Linked DNA regions of Homo sapiens: regions 2, 3, 4 and 5 are each linked to region 1. Evidence: promoter capture Hi-C in 16 types of primary human blood cells and fetal thymus (Javierre and others, 2016). All regions are on one chromosome and are shown on one strand. The core of a region is centred on a gene start or on the middle of the fragment in contact, and the rest is flanking DNA. Distances in the headings are between cores, read along the strand shown. Region 1 holds the start of SAR1B (secretion associated Ras related GTPase 1B). Region 2 overlaps SKP1 (S-phase kinase associated protein 1). Region 3 overlaps PPP2CA (protein phosphatase 2 catalytic subunit alpha). Region 4 has its middle 34 kb from the start of PPP2CA-DT. Region 5 overlaps CDKL3 (cyclin dependent kinase like 3).

Region 1 (2,682 bases), core at 109-2,608:
CTATATATATATATAATTTTTAAATTTATTTTTAATTTAATTAATTTATTTATTTTTTGAGACGGAGACAGAGTCTCGCTCTGTCGCCCAGGCTAGAGTGCAATGGTGCAATCTCGGCTCACTGCAACCTCCACCTCCCGGGTTCAAGCAATTCTCCTGCCTCGGCCTACCGAGTAGCTGGCGTTACAGGCACCTGCCATCATGCCTGGGTAATTTTCGTATTTTTGTAGAGATGGGGTTTCACCATGTTGGCCAGGCTGGTCTTGAACTCTAACCTCAGGTGATTCACCCACCTTGACCTCCCAAAGTGCTGAGATTACAGGTGTGAACCACCGCGCCTGGCCAAGACCGTCTATAAAACAACTGAATAACCAGCTGAATAAAAGCTGAATAACCAGCATCCAACACATTATCTGGTACGTAGCTACATTGTGTAAATCACTGGTGAATTCAATAAGCACAAATAACAAAAAAAGAAAAAAAAATGAATTCAATAAGCACGTGTACTTTGAAAATGTATTTTAGGCAGGGCGCGGTGGTGATCCCAGCACTTTGGGAGGCTGAGGCAGGTGGATCACTTATGCTAGGGAGTTTGAGACCAGCCTGGCCAACATGATGAAACCCGGTCTCTACTAAAAATACAAAAATTAGCCGGGCGCAGTGGCTCACGCCTGTAATCCTAGCACTTTGGGAGGCCGAGGCGGGCGGTTCACTTTAGGTCAAGAGTTCGAGACCAGCCTGGCCAACATGGTGAAACCCCGTCTCTACTAAAAATACAAAAATTAGCCGGGCATGGTGGTGCGCGCCTGTGCTCCCAGCTACTCAGGAGGCTGAGGTAGAAGAATCGCTTGAACCCGGGAGGCGGAGGTTACAGTGAGCTGAGATCGCGCCATTGCACTCCAGCCTGGGCGACAAAATCGAGGCTCCGTTTCAAAAAAAAAAAAAATTAGCCGGACAGTGGTGGCGGGTGCCTGTAGTCCCCGCTACTGGGGAGGCTGAGGTAGGAGAATCTCTTGAATCCAGGGGGTGGAGGCTGCAGTGAGCCGAGATCGTGCCACTGCACCCCAGCCTGGGAGACAGAGCGAGACAACGTCTCAAAAAAAAAAAATGCCAAAAGTAATTTCCCCTAGGGAGGCATGGGGTGTTCCTTTCTCGGCACGCAGGCCCCTAAAATCCCTTCGGGCGGGCGGGTGTGGGGAGACCAGGCGGCTGGGAGACCCAGGCGGTGTTAGGGGTTGCGAGCAGCCTCGCTCAACTGGGGAATTGGCGGCAAGACTGCCAGGAGGCGGAACCTAGGGCGCTCGGCGACGCGGTCCTGCGGACTGTCGCTAGTGAGGCACCCGCCGGCCCGGAAGGGGCTGATGCGAACTGGGGCCACGGCAGCCATCGCGCTTTGCAGTTCGGTCTCCTGGTGTACGGCCAACGCCAAGTAGGGGATTGCGTTCCCTCCAGTCGCAGGTGAGTGACAGCCCCTCCTTCTGGGAGGACCGGTGGGCAGCAGCTATGGATCCCCTAGAAGGCGCACTTTTAGGGCCAAGACCTACTCTGAGTCCCTGCCTGTGGCACTGCGTGAAGGGGCGCCTGTTTTTCACCCCGGGGTTAGGCGGCGCGAGGGAGGACAGGTCTCATCCATGCTCCGCGGGGCCGTCTGATAGCCCTCGAGGCAGAACACTGCTGCTGTCAGACGCTTGGTCTTTTCAGGAAAGAACGAGGTGGCTGCAGGCAAGCCCCTTCCTTCCCCTGGGCCTCAGTTTCCTTACCTGGTAAGGTGAAGGTGGCGGGTCTCACTGACAGCTGAAGAGGCTGTGACACGGCCTGGTGTTTTCAGCGCTCCCAATTAGTGTAGAGGCAAATTGAGCTTCCTTACTAGTACTGGTTAACGTTTTCCGTAGCCCAAAGTCCCAGTTAAGTGGAAAAAAGATACACTGTTGAGAAAACTGTACTGATTTTTGTTTTAATTTTTTAAATTTTTGTTGTTGTTTTGAGACAGAGTTTCCCTCTTGTCGCCCAGGCTGGAGTGAAGTGGCACGATCTCGGCTTACTGCAAGCTCCGCCTCCCGGGTTCACGCCATTCTCCTGCCTCAGCCTCCCGAGTAGCTGGGACTACAGGTGCCCGCCACCACGCACCGCTAATTTTTTTGTATTTTTTAGTAGAGATGGGGTTTCACCGTGTTAGCCAGGATGGTCTCTTATCTCCTGACCTCGTGATCCGCCTGCCTCGGCCTCCCAAAGTGCTGGGATTATAGGCGTGAGCCACCGCATCCGGTCTAACTTTTCTATTTTTAGTAGAGATGGGATTTCTCTATGTTGGCCAGTCTGGTCTCCAACTCCTGACCTCAGGTGATCTGCTCGCCTCGGCCTCCCAAAGTGCTGGGATTAAAGGCATGAGCCACCTCAGTGGGCCACTGTACTGATTTTTAAGGTGTTGAAGCTTTTCCAAGAAGATTTGTTTTAAAACAGCTAAAACTTTGACATTGTTAGCTGAAAGAACCAAATTCGTCAGCAATTTAAGGTGTTTGGTACAGTGGACAAAATGAGGTGAAGAAGTCCTTTTAACTTGAAAAATTAAACATAGTATTATTTATTTGTGTGTTCTTACATCAGCCTCTATATTACTAAGTGTCTTTGAAGACGTCCTATATTCCGTGTTAAAGTATCAGTGAAGAGTAGGTCACATTGAAA
Region 2 (2,682 bases), core at 48-2,547, 480 kb after region 1:
CTTCAGATAAAAGAATGAGAACACTTGAATGAAAAAGGAAGACTTGGTCCAGAGCCCCTGGTGAATATGAAAGAAGTATTGGCCTGGACTATCTCCCGCATAATTCACAGCTGCTATCTTGTCTTCAGAAGTGAAACATCCCTTACCAATAGTGACCTAACTTGTGAGGACTGCTTGTGATAGTATAGTTCCCACCCCCAGGACATAAGTTTTCCCTTTCCAGTTAACATGCCTAATCCCATGCTATCTTTAAGAGCTTGAAAATCCTTCCTGACCTGAGCTAGGCTTTTATTCTAAGGGACTGTGTATGTGAACATCCCCACCATCTATGTTTCCTGTTTTCAAACTCGGTGCCGTTTTGAGTATTTTCAGATGCTCACTGCCAGTAATGGTTTGTTAGTAGCTCCAAACTATTAGAGAAGAGCTCAGGAGTCAGAATTTGAAAGATGCCCATAGGGTGATTTGAGATTTGGAACAAGGTTATCACAATAAGTTGGGATTGGGGGAGTTGACACAACCAGGGTCTGCTTGGGTGGGCAGCTGTTTCAGAAACCCTTGGTGAACTCTTAAAGCCCTGAAGAGCTTAAAAAATGCTCTGAAGAGATCTGAGAGTCGCAGTTAAGGACTCTCAAAGAACCTCAAAGAAAAGCCAACTTAGCCTTTTTATACAATTAACTAGATTTGGGTCTTAAATTCTACTTTGACATATAGGCCTAAGAGGTAGTTTAACATGGCCTTGTTACCCTTACCCCTTCTGTTCTGTGCTGTTTTCTGAGAAACGGATGCAGGAACTGATTCCCTTTCTTCCTCTCTGGAACAGGATATAAAGAACCCTTCCGCTTCCCTTTACTTGTGGCCTTCCTGGCCAGGCTTATGTATACTGAACAAAGCTAGGGTGCAGTGCTTCTGAGCTAGCTGTTAGGGGTCCACAGCCAGAAGGAATGGGAGACCACAGGAGCCATTCAAAAGATAATTACATGTCAGAAGAGAGTCCATCCATGGGGTTCTGTTAAAGTAGACACCTTCACGTTGGGAGACATAGGCTTTGTCTGCTTGCTGGGCTGAACCCTCACCATATCCACAGAGAACAAAATGGGGAGCAGCTGTACCAGGGGAGGGATGAACGTCTTTCACCCAAGTTGCCAGTCTGCTAGTTGTCTGGAAATGTTCAAGGGAGGCTAAGGTATCTTGTCTTATGATGTCTCAGGAAACAGGGTTGGTTCTCAGCTGGCAGTGAAGGGGGACTGGTGTGGTATTAGCAGTTGAACTTGAGGTTGCAATCTCAAGTCACCCTCTGGCCTCGCAGGAATGCACCAGGGTGATTTGGGAGGATCTGAGTTTCCTTTATGAAGTCAGATTAAAAAAAAAAAAAGCTGATCTGATTTAAACAGAGTTGCCAAAGACTTCCCCGCCAATACACAAAGACTGCATTGTTCAGGTACCCTGTGTACTCTAAGTGAGACACCAAATCAGATGCAGCAACCTGGTCTTGCATAAGCCCTGGTTAGAATGTAGGTTTTTTAAACAACTAGGCCAGTAGCCAGAACAGAATTCTTTAAAATGGGACAGATGTCCAGAGAATGGCTAGTGTCCTCTAGCACTCTCTCAGAAGCAAAAGCAAGTCTGGGGTTACAACTTCCAGTGGCCTACTTTAAATAGACGCTGTTCTGGAAAATGACTTTATACTTTAAACACAAAATCCAAAAAATAGAACTCAGTGGAGTGACAATGACAATGCATGATGGTGGCCCAGTGGCTGTCCCATGTGAAATACTTCTTGCCTGACATGTATCATCTACTTGTTGACTGACCTATTGAGGTGCCTTCATGACACCTTTTACATTCATGATAGGTCTCAGGAAGACAGCAGTGTACTTGGTGGAAACTCATGTAAAAAGTGGGTTGTAGGGAGCTAAACAGTGAGTACACATGGTATATGGATACGGAATGGAATAATAGACATTGGAGACTTCAAAAGGTGGGAGATGAAAGGGGGATGAGGTATGAAATCCTACCTGTTGAGTACAATGTACACTACTTACGTGCACAGTACACTGTTTGGGTGAGAGGCACACTAAAAGCCCGGACCTCACCGCTACCCAGTATGTTCATGTAACACAGCTGCACTTGTACCCCCTAAATGTATACAAATAATCTAAAAATAGCCCGGACCTCACCGCTACACAATATATTCATGTAACACAGCTGCATTTGTACCCCCTAAATGTATACAAATAATCTAAAAATAAAGTGGATATGGTGGCTGTCGTGTCCACCAACAGCGTATGTAACTTTTTAAAAAGTGGGTAATAGATTTATCAAACTTGAAGGCTTGTGTGAAAATATGAAAAATACTTTGCGTCTTAACAGATGCAGTCTTTGGGTGCAGCGCACCAGCACGGCACATGTATACATATGTAACTAACCTGCGCATTGTGCACATGTACCCTAAAACGTAAAGTATAATAATAATAATTAAAAAAAAAGATGCAGTCTTTGGGAGGAAGGGGTGCTATTAAAAAATCCTCCTTTAGGATTTTGTGGTGCTAATAGGTTATAAAAGACTCGTTTGCTCTTGTTTTCCTTGAAATAGGATATGCACTTGTGGAATGTTTTCTTTTCTCTCTGCCCTCAGAGGAAAATGGAGCCTAGTGGTCATGTGTACCTATTTCAGGTTGAATT
Region 3 (2,682 bases), core at 67-2,566, 440 kb after region 1:
GGAATTAAAATGTACCGTGCGACTCTCTGTTTCAGTGGTGACTTTTACCTGTTTAGTATAAATATTCCTTTGCTTCCAACCATAAATGTGTTCTTAGAAATGGGCCTATAGTTTAGTAACCTATAGTTTGGTAATAGGCTTGTTTGTTTTCAGATGGATTTTGGTTCTGTGAGCTAAAGCTATTTTGCATTAAAGCCTTCGTCCTCACACATTGTTTTGACATATTTCTAGTCTTCATAAACTTTTTTAATTTAGATTTTTTTCCCTTCACAAGTATACATCTGTTTTAGCAAATAGCCTTATGAAGGTTGTAGATGTATTATTTTGGGCATGCCTGGTGATTTCTATATTTTTTCCAATTACATTTAAAGCTTTATGTTTTAGGAATATAAGTACATTTTATTTCTACTTTTTATTATATATATTTAATTGCACAAGTACTACTGTCTAGAAAAAAATGGGATGTTGCTAACACAGCATTGTTGGCTTGTAGGCAGTGCTGTCCTGTAAATAGATTGAAATGTATTTTTATCAGCTGGTATATAAATTTGAGGAAAGAAAAATGTGGACTGTGTTTGAATTGTTTAAAAGTTGAACATACAAAGATCAGTGGTAACCAAGTAAGTGATATAGGCAACAGACCCCAGTTTGTTTTGTATTTGCTGTCATGCCTGGACCAGAATTCCTCATTCCCAAGAGTGAAAGAGGAAATAATTATAGCTAATGAGTGAATGCTGGAAAAAGTCACACTTTTTTGTTTTTTAAGGAAAAGCACAAACCCTCATGTCTGAGGTTGAATTTAATTAAGTGCAGTCGGCCCTCCATAGTCAAGGGTTCCACATCTGAGAATTCAGCCAACCATGGACTGAAAATATTTTTGGGAAAAGGAACCAATAAAAACCAATACAGTGGCCAGGAGCAGTGGCTCATGCCCATAATCCCGGCACTTTAGGAGGCGGAGGCAGGGGTGGGGGGATCACCGGAGGTCAGGAGTTCAAGACCAGCCTGGCCAACATGGTGAAACCCCGTCTCTACTAAAACTATAAGAATTAGCTGGGCATGGTGGCGTGTGCCTGTAATCCCAGCTACTCAGGAGGCTGAGGCAGGAGAATCACTTGAATCTGGGAGGTGGAGGTTGCAGTGAGCCAAGATAGAGCCACTGCACTTCAGCCTGGGCAACAGAGCAAGACTCTGTCTAAAAAAAAAAAACACAGTATAACTATATACATAGCAATTTCATTGTTTAGGTATTATGAGTAATCCATAATTTAAAGTATAGCCAGCCATCAGTATCCACAGAGTTTGCATCAAATGAGTCAATGGAGTCAACCAACCTGGGATTGAAAATGCAGTGTTCTTTTTTTTTTCCCCCTGAGACGGAGTCTCTCTCTGTCACCCGGGTTGGGGTGCAGTGGCACGATCTTGGCTCACTGCAACCTGTGCCTCCCGAGTTCAAGCAAGTCTCCTGCCTCAGCTTCCCAAGTAGCTGGGATTACAGGCGTGGCTCACTACGCCCAGTTAATTTTGTATTTTTAGTAGAGACGGTTTCACCATGTTGGCCAGGGTGGTATGAAACTCCCAACCTCAGGCGATCCACCTGCCTCAGCCTCCCAAAGTGCTGGGATTACAGGCATGAGCCACCGCGCCTGGCCAAAAAATGCAGTATTCTTGAATGCAGAACCCACTGGTAAAGGGGACTGACTTCCAGACTTGACTATCCAAGGGAGGTGTCCTGGATCCAGTCTCCCAAGATTACTGAGGGATGACTAGTTTGTATCCTCAACAGGCTTGTGAGAAGTAGCCAGGATTTTGTCTACTCTGCGTACGATGCTGCTAATGCTGCAAACCACTGCTCTTATTTTACTACTTGGGTCCCTTCGGAATCTATTTTGAGATAGCCTCAGCCATGGTGTACAATCTTCTCAACCATTCAGTGTTGTTAGTGGGAAGGACTTTAATGTGTTCTTCCTGCTGGGCACAGTGGCTCCCGCCTGTAATCCTATCACTTTGGGAGTCCGAGGTGGGTGGATCACTTGAGCCTGGAGTTGAAGATGAGCCTGGCCAACATGGTGAAATCCTGTCTCCACTAAAAAAACAACTAGCTGGGTGTGATGGCACTTACCTGTAGTACCAGCTAGTTGGGAGGGTGAGACTAAATCGCTTGAAACCGGGAAGCAGAGGTTGCAGTGAGCTGAGATCGCGCCATTGCACTCCAGACTGCGAGACTCTTGTCTCGAAAAAATATATTTTTAAAAGCTTTCTTCCAAGAAATAATTTAGCTGTTCTTCCTTAGTGCAGTGGTAGGCTGTAGCCACCAGCAAGCAAGATTACTGATGGTGGAAGTCAAAGGCCAGAATCGTGATAGGAAGTTAAGAGTGCTTGCTCCATAGAACACTATGGAAGACCACAATGGAATGTCTAATTAAAGCTATTAGAAATGCCCAAAGCTGTTGAGTGCCTCTACCTCAAGGCTTAGCATACCTTCTGATCTGCAAGGAGACTAATCATTAGGCTTTTTGCAGTTCTAGAACTGCTCTGAGTATGGCATTGGAACCTGGGGATAGGAGCAAGAGCTAGTAATTGGGTTTGGCAGGCCTGGTCAAAGGGGAGCTTTAAGGTCAGGTATATCCAAACATATCAGAAAGTAGGTTACATGGTGTGGTGAAATATACCAGATGTAAA
Region 4 (2,682 bases), core at 55-2,554, 370 kb after region 1:
AAGCCTCAGCTTTATTAGTAAGCAGGGAAATGGAAATTAAAACCACAGATTCTAGTTTTCATTCTCACCCAGTTGGCAAAAGCTTATTGTCAACACCAAGTGTTGGTGAGGACATGGGGCAATGGAAATGTTCACACTCTGCTGGTGGGAGTGTAAATTGGGAAGACTACCTGGCATTATCTAGTAAATTGTAGATGGGCACATCCTGTGACCAACCATTCCTCTCCTTGGTTTTTATTCTGGAGAAAGTCTTGCACATGGACTTCAGGTGACATGTAAGGATGCTCCCAGCAGTGTTGTTTGTTACAGCAAAATCTGGAAACAGTCCAAAATCCATCAATAACAGACTGGATAAATAAACTGTCATGTATTATTAATATATATACACACAGACACAAACATGAATGAATTATATACACCAACATGAATAAATCACAAACAGTTTTCATAAGAAGAGCAAGTCACATTATGGTTCCACATATTTACGTTAAATACATACAAAACTAAATATATTTTAAAATACACAATATATGATTTGATTATAAAAAAAGCCAAGGAATAATAAATACAAAATTCAGCATAGCAGCCCTGTCTGTTGGGAATGTGATCAGAGAGAGCATACCTGGAACCTCAGTGTTACTGGTAATGTCATGTTTCTTGAGTCAAGAGTGCAAGGGAAGGCTGGGCACAATGGCTCATGCCTGTAATCCCAGCACTTTGTGAGCCTGAGGAAAGTGCATCATTTGAGGTCAGGAGTTCCAGACCATCCTGCCCAACATGGCTAATCCCTGTCTCTACTAAAAATACAAAAATTAGGCGTGGTGGCACGCACCCGTAGTCCCACTACTCAGGAGGCTGAGGCACGAGAGTCGCTTGAACCCGGGAGGCAGAGGTTGCAGTGAGCTGAGATTGTTCCATTGCACTCCAGCCTGGGCGACACAGCGAGACTCCATCTCAAAAAAAAAAAAAGTGCAAGGGAACTTGTTTTATTATTAGTCTTTAAATATGTTAATTGTATTTTTGTCGATATTATTTTTCACAATAGTATCTTAACAAAAACAAATCTTACAAGCTACAGGGGTTGTGGGGCAGGCAGTGGGAAGAGATGGGCTTAGTTAGTAGTCAATACAAGAAGTGCAAGAATCTTCTAACTCATTCCTCTAGGTGATTAGTAACCTTCTGTTTCACTTTTTAATTTAAAATTTTAGTTATGTATTTTTCTTATGAAATATTTCATAAATACAGAAAGGTATAGAATATCATAATCACCTATGTGTCCATAACCCAATTTAAGGTGTAAGGCTTGGCCAAGTGCAGTGGCTTACGCCTGAAATCCCAGCACTTTGGGAAACCTGAGATGGGAGGATCACTTGAGGTGAGGAGTTCGAGACCAGCCTGGGCAACATGGTGAAACCCGGTCACTACTAAAAATACAAAAATTAGCCAGTTTTGGTGGGCACTGTGTGACCCAGCTACTTCAGGGACTGAGGATGCTTGATCCCAGGAGTTGGAGGTTACAGTAAGCTACGATCACAGCCTGCACTCCAGCCTGAGCCATAAGATGGAGACTCTGCCCCAAAACAACAACAAAAAGGTCTAAGACTTTACAAAAATAGTGGAAGCCCTTTGTGTAACCCTCCCTCATTGTATTCCCTTTCCTGCATCCCCAGTAACCACATTTCTGAAATTTGTACCACTCCTTTCTATGCTGGTCTTCCTACTTTTACTGACATATGCATGTACCCTTAAAGGTTCGTATTGCACTGTTAGGCATGTTTGGCATTTTATATACATGGAATTATGGCATCATTTGGTCCTATCCTTCTGCAACTCTTTTTCCCAATGTTATTTTTAAATTTTTATTTAGAGACAGGGTCTCACTTTGTCACCCAGGCTGGAGTGCAGTGGCATGCTTACAGCTCATTGCGGCCTGTAACTCCTAGGCACAAACGATCCTCCTCCAGAGCAGCTAGGACTACAGGCACGTGCTACTATGTCCAGATAATGGTTGGATAATTTTTCTTTTCTTTACTTTCTTTTTTTTTCTTTTCTTTTCTTTCTTTTTTTTTTTTTTTTTTTGTAGAGACAGGGTCTTGTTGTGTTGCCTAGCCTGGTCTCAAACTCCTGGGCTCAAGCCATCCTCTTGCCTGGGCTTCCCAAAGAGCTGGAATTATAGGTGTGAGCCACCATGCCTGGCCCCCAATATTTTTCTTAATGTTTGTCCATGTTGATGTGGCAGGATTCTTTGTATCCAGTTTTAATTTATGTTTCCAATCCCCCAACATTTTACAAACTTTTTGTTATGGGAAATTTCAAACATATACACGAGTAAACAGAATCTCATAATAAGATTTTCATAATTCCTCCTGTTACTCATCACCCAGCTTTAACAGTTATCAACACGTGGTCAGTTTTGTTTCATCTATTACCCAATTCATTTCCCACCCTCTTGTATTATTTTGAAGTAAATTCCAGACATCACATAATTCTTTCCTAAATATTTCAATATGTGTTTCTAAAAGCTTAGGGTTCTTTTTATAAAGATATAATCACTTATCACACCACAAATAATTAACAGTTTCTTTTTTTGAGACAAAGTCTCGCTCTGTGGCCCAGGTTGGAGTACAGTATCCTGATCTCGGCTCACTGCAACTTCTGCCTCCTGGGTTCAAGAGATTCTCT
Region 5 (2,682 bases), core at 78-2,577, 310 kb after region 1:
CAATCTTTTTCTTCTACGAACAGTGCTGCAGTGAAATTCTCATATAATTTATATTTGTGCACACATGTGAGTATATCTTAGGATAAATTCCTAGGAATAAAATTGTACAATAAAAAATATATACAATTTAAATTTTGGTGGCTTTTGCCAATTTTTCCTCCAAAGAAGTCATATAAGTTTACACTCCCAGAACAGTACTTAGGACTATTCCTTTCCTATAGCCTCACCAATATAGCAATTACCAATTCTTATAAAGTCGGTATATGATCTACAATAAAAACTTACAAATGGGCCAGGCGTGGTGGCTCACACCTGTAATCCCAGCACTTTGGGAGGCTGAGGCGGGCAGATCACGAGGTCAGGAGTTTGAGACCAGCCTGGCCAACATGGTGAAACCCCATCTCTACTAAAAATACAAAAATTAGCCACATGTGGTGGCACACGCCTCTAATCCCAGCTACTTGGGAGGCTGAGGCAGGAGAATTGCTTGAACCCGGAGGTTGCAGTGAGCTGAGATTGCAGCACTTGCACTCCAGCCTGGGTGACAGAGCAAGACTCGGTCTCGAAAAAAAACAAAACAAAACTTAAAATGATACTACTTGTTTCTTTAGCCTTGGCCTTCTTTAAACATATTTTTAAGAATATATTTATAAATTTCTACATGAAAAAGTGATTTTTTTTTCCCTGATCTGTTTCAGACCTGTGGATATCTGGGCTTTGGGCTGTATGATCATTGAGATGGCCACTGGAAATCCCTATCTTCCTAGTAGTTCTGATTTGGATTTACTCCATAAAATTGTTTTGAAAGTGGGTAGGTATTACTGAAATAACATGAGTTACATGTCTAAAATAAATATTGCCAGATCAATTCTGCTTGATTTTCAAATTTAGCTTTTCTGTGTAAGTACAGGGAAGCATATTGTTTTGATAGATGGCAGCAGATGGGTTCCTTGGGCTGATAAAGAAGGCAGAAAATTCTCTGCTTTAGCAAATAATATTTTCTTTGCTAGGATGCAAATAGCTAAGCCATATGTTGATGGTTGATGCTAAGAAAAATAGTACAATAGGAATGTACTTTAATTTGTCTAAAAGTTGTTTTTAAATTAGGCTTCTACAAATATCTGTACCTTTATATAAGGACTTTAAATAGTAGAGTTGAGTCAGATGCTTTTTTAAAGCACTTGGAAATAGAAAAGTAATTATTTACTCAGAAACCACCCTTCTTTTTAAAGAAAACAATAATAGACAGCCAGATAGCTAAATAACTTATTCAAGAACATATTTGATGAAGGCTGGGCATGGTGGCTTACACCTGTAATCCCTGCACTTTGGGAGGCCAAGGCAGGCGGAGCACCTGAGATCAGGAGTTGGAGACCAACCTGACCAACATAGTGAAACCCCATCTCTACTAAAAATACAAAAAAAATTAGCCAGGTATGGTGACGAGTGCCTGTAATCCCAGTTACTCAGGAGGCTGAGGCATGAGAACTGCTTGAACCCAGGAGGCAGAGGTTGCAGTGAGCCACGATCACGCCACTGCACTCCAGCCTGGGCAACAGAATGAGACTTAGTCTCAAAAAAAAAAAAAAAAAAAAAGAATATGTTTGATGAGAGTTTAATTATTTGATGATCTGCTTTGGCCACCAAAACATTATGATGGTTAGCCTTGAATGTGCTATTTCAAGATTTGTGGGTTTTTTAAATTTTAAATTTAATTTTTTTTTTTTTGAGAGGGAGTCTCGCTCTGTCACCCAGGCTGGAGTGCAGGGGCGCGATCTCAGCTCACTGCAAGCTCTGCCTCCTGGGTTCATGCCATTCTCCTGCCTCAGCCTCCCGAGTAGCTGGGACTACAGGTGCCTGCCACCACACCTGGCTTTTTTTTGTATTTTTAGCAGAGACGGGGTTTCACTGTGTTAGCCAGGATGGTCTCGATTTCCTGACCTCGTGATCCACCCACCTGGGCCTCGCAAAGTGCTGGGAATACAGGCATGAACCACCGCGCCCGGCTAAATTTTAATTTTTTTGAGACAGGGTCTCACTTTGTCACCTGGGTTGGAGTGCACTGGTGCAATCATGGCTCACTGTAGCCTTGACTTCCTGGGCTCAGGTGATTCTCCCACCTCAGCCTGCTGAGTGGCTGGGACTACAGGCACGTGCCATCATCCCCGGCTAATTTTTGCGTTTTTAGTGCAGCCGCGGTTTTGCCATGTTGCCCGACTCGGCCTCCCAAAGTGCTGGGATTACAGGCGTGAGCCACCATGGCTGGCCAAGATTTGTTTTTTATTATTTGTGGATGAGGAGCTTGAGAAGCTCTTTGTGTGGTGGGGAAGATATGCATAAATTTGTAATTACAGGATTATGAGGAAGATACTATGAACAATTCTAAAAACAGTGAAATCTGGATAATTACTGATTTAAGAAATAGTTTAGAGCCTTAAGACACCTCACATTTTTGTGTCTTTTAAGAAGTTCTAGTTAAGAGATTAATATTAGAAGGAACCTTAGATGGTGGGGTTTAATCCTATCATTTCACAGATGAGAAAACCAAGCACAAGAAAGCAAGAGATTTACCCAAGGTCACAGAACTAGTTATAGCAAAACTGCTAGAACTTAGTTCCCTCCACTCATATTTATAGTTCTTTCCATTCTGCTACTACTCTCTAGCCTTGTTTCTTTTTTTGC

What was found. The method cuts DNA at HindIII sites, captures the fragments that hold promoters and counts their contacts. A CHiCAGO score of 5 or more calls a contact.
Region 2: a contact is called between a fragment that was not itself captured here and the fragment with the promoter of SAR1B in region 1, in 1 of 17 cell types (activated CD4 T cells). The highest score is 7.8, in activated CD4 T cells.
Region 3: a contact is called between a fragment that was not itself captured here and the fragment with the promoter of SAR1B in region 1, in 2 of 17 cell types (activated CD4 T cells and total CD4 T cells). The highest score is 6.7, in activated CD4 T cells.
Region 4: a fragment that was not itself captured here is called in contact with the fragment with the promoter of SAR1B in region 1 in 1 of 17 cell types (activated CD4 T cells); the score reaches 5.7 in activated CD4 T cells.
Region 5: a fragment that was not itself captured here is called in contact with the fragment with the promoter of SAR1B in region 1 in 1 of 17 cell types (M2 macrophages); the score reaches 5.6 in M2 macrophages.

What each region holds. Positions count from the first base shown.
Region 1 is chr5:134,631,504-134,634,185 of GRCh38, reverse strand. SAR1B (secretion associated Ras related GTPase 1B) reads left to right here and starts at 1,358. Exons shown (of 7, transcript NM_016103.4): 1 at 1,358-1,458. RefSeq lists an enhancer at 907-1,463 and silencers at 1,437-1,486, 1,537-1,646. The HindIII fragment of the contact is 3,405 bases long and covers 1-2,433 here.
Region 2 is chr5:134,148,539-134,151,220 of GRCh38, reverse strand. It overlaps SKP1 (S-phase kinase associated protein 1), which reads left to right. Exons shown (of 6, transcript NM_170679.3): 6 at 1-2,286. Among named protein-coding and RNA genes, the nearest start is that of SKP1, 27 kb to the left of the region's middle. The HindIII fragment of the contact is 2,975 bases long and covers 1-2,682 here.
Region 3 is chr5:134,191,859-134,194,540 of GRCh38, reverse strand. PPP2CA (protein phosphatase 2 catalytic subunit alpha) reads left to right here. Exons shown (of 7, transcript NM_002715.4): 7 at 1-209. Among named protein-coding and RNA genes, the nearest start is that of SKP1, 16 kb to the right of the region's middle. The HindIII fragment of the contact is 1,885 bases long and covers 374-2,258 here.
Region 4 is chr5:134,258,832-134,261,513 of GRCh38, reverse strand. No RefSeq gene overlaps it. Among named protein-coding and RNA genes, the nearest start is that of PPP2CA-DT, 34 kb to the right of the region's middle. The HindIII fragment of the contact is 2,440 bases long and covers 85-2,524 here.
Region 5 is chr5:134,319,920-134,322,601 of GRCh38, reverse strand. It overlaps CDKL3 (cyclin dependent kinase like 3), which reads left to right. Exons shown (of 13, transcript NM_001113575.2): 5 at 699-811. Among named protein-coding and RNA genes, the nearest start is that of CDKL3, 46 kb to the left of the region's middle. The HindIII fragment of the contact is 3,778 bases long and covers 1-2,682 here.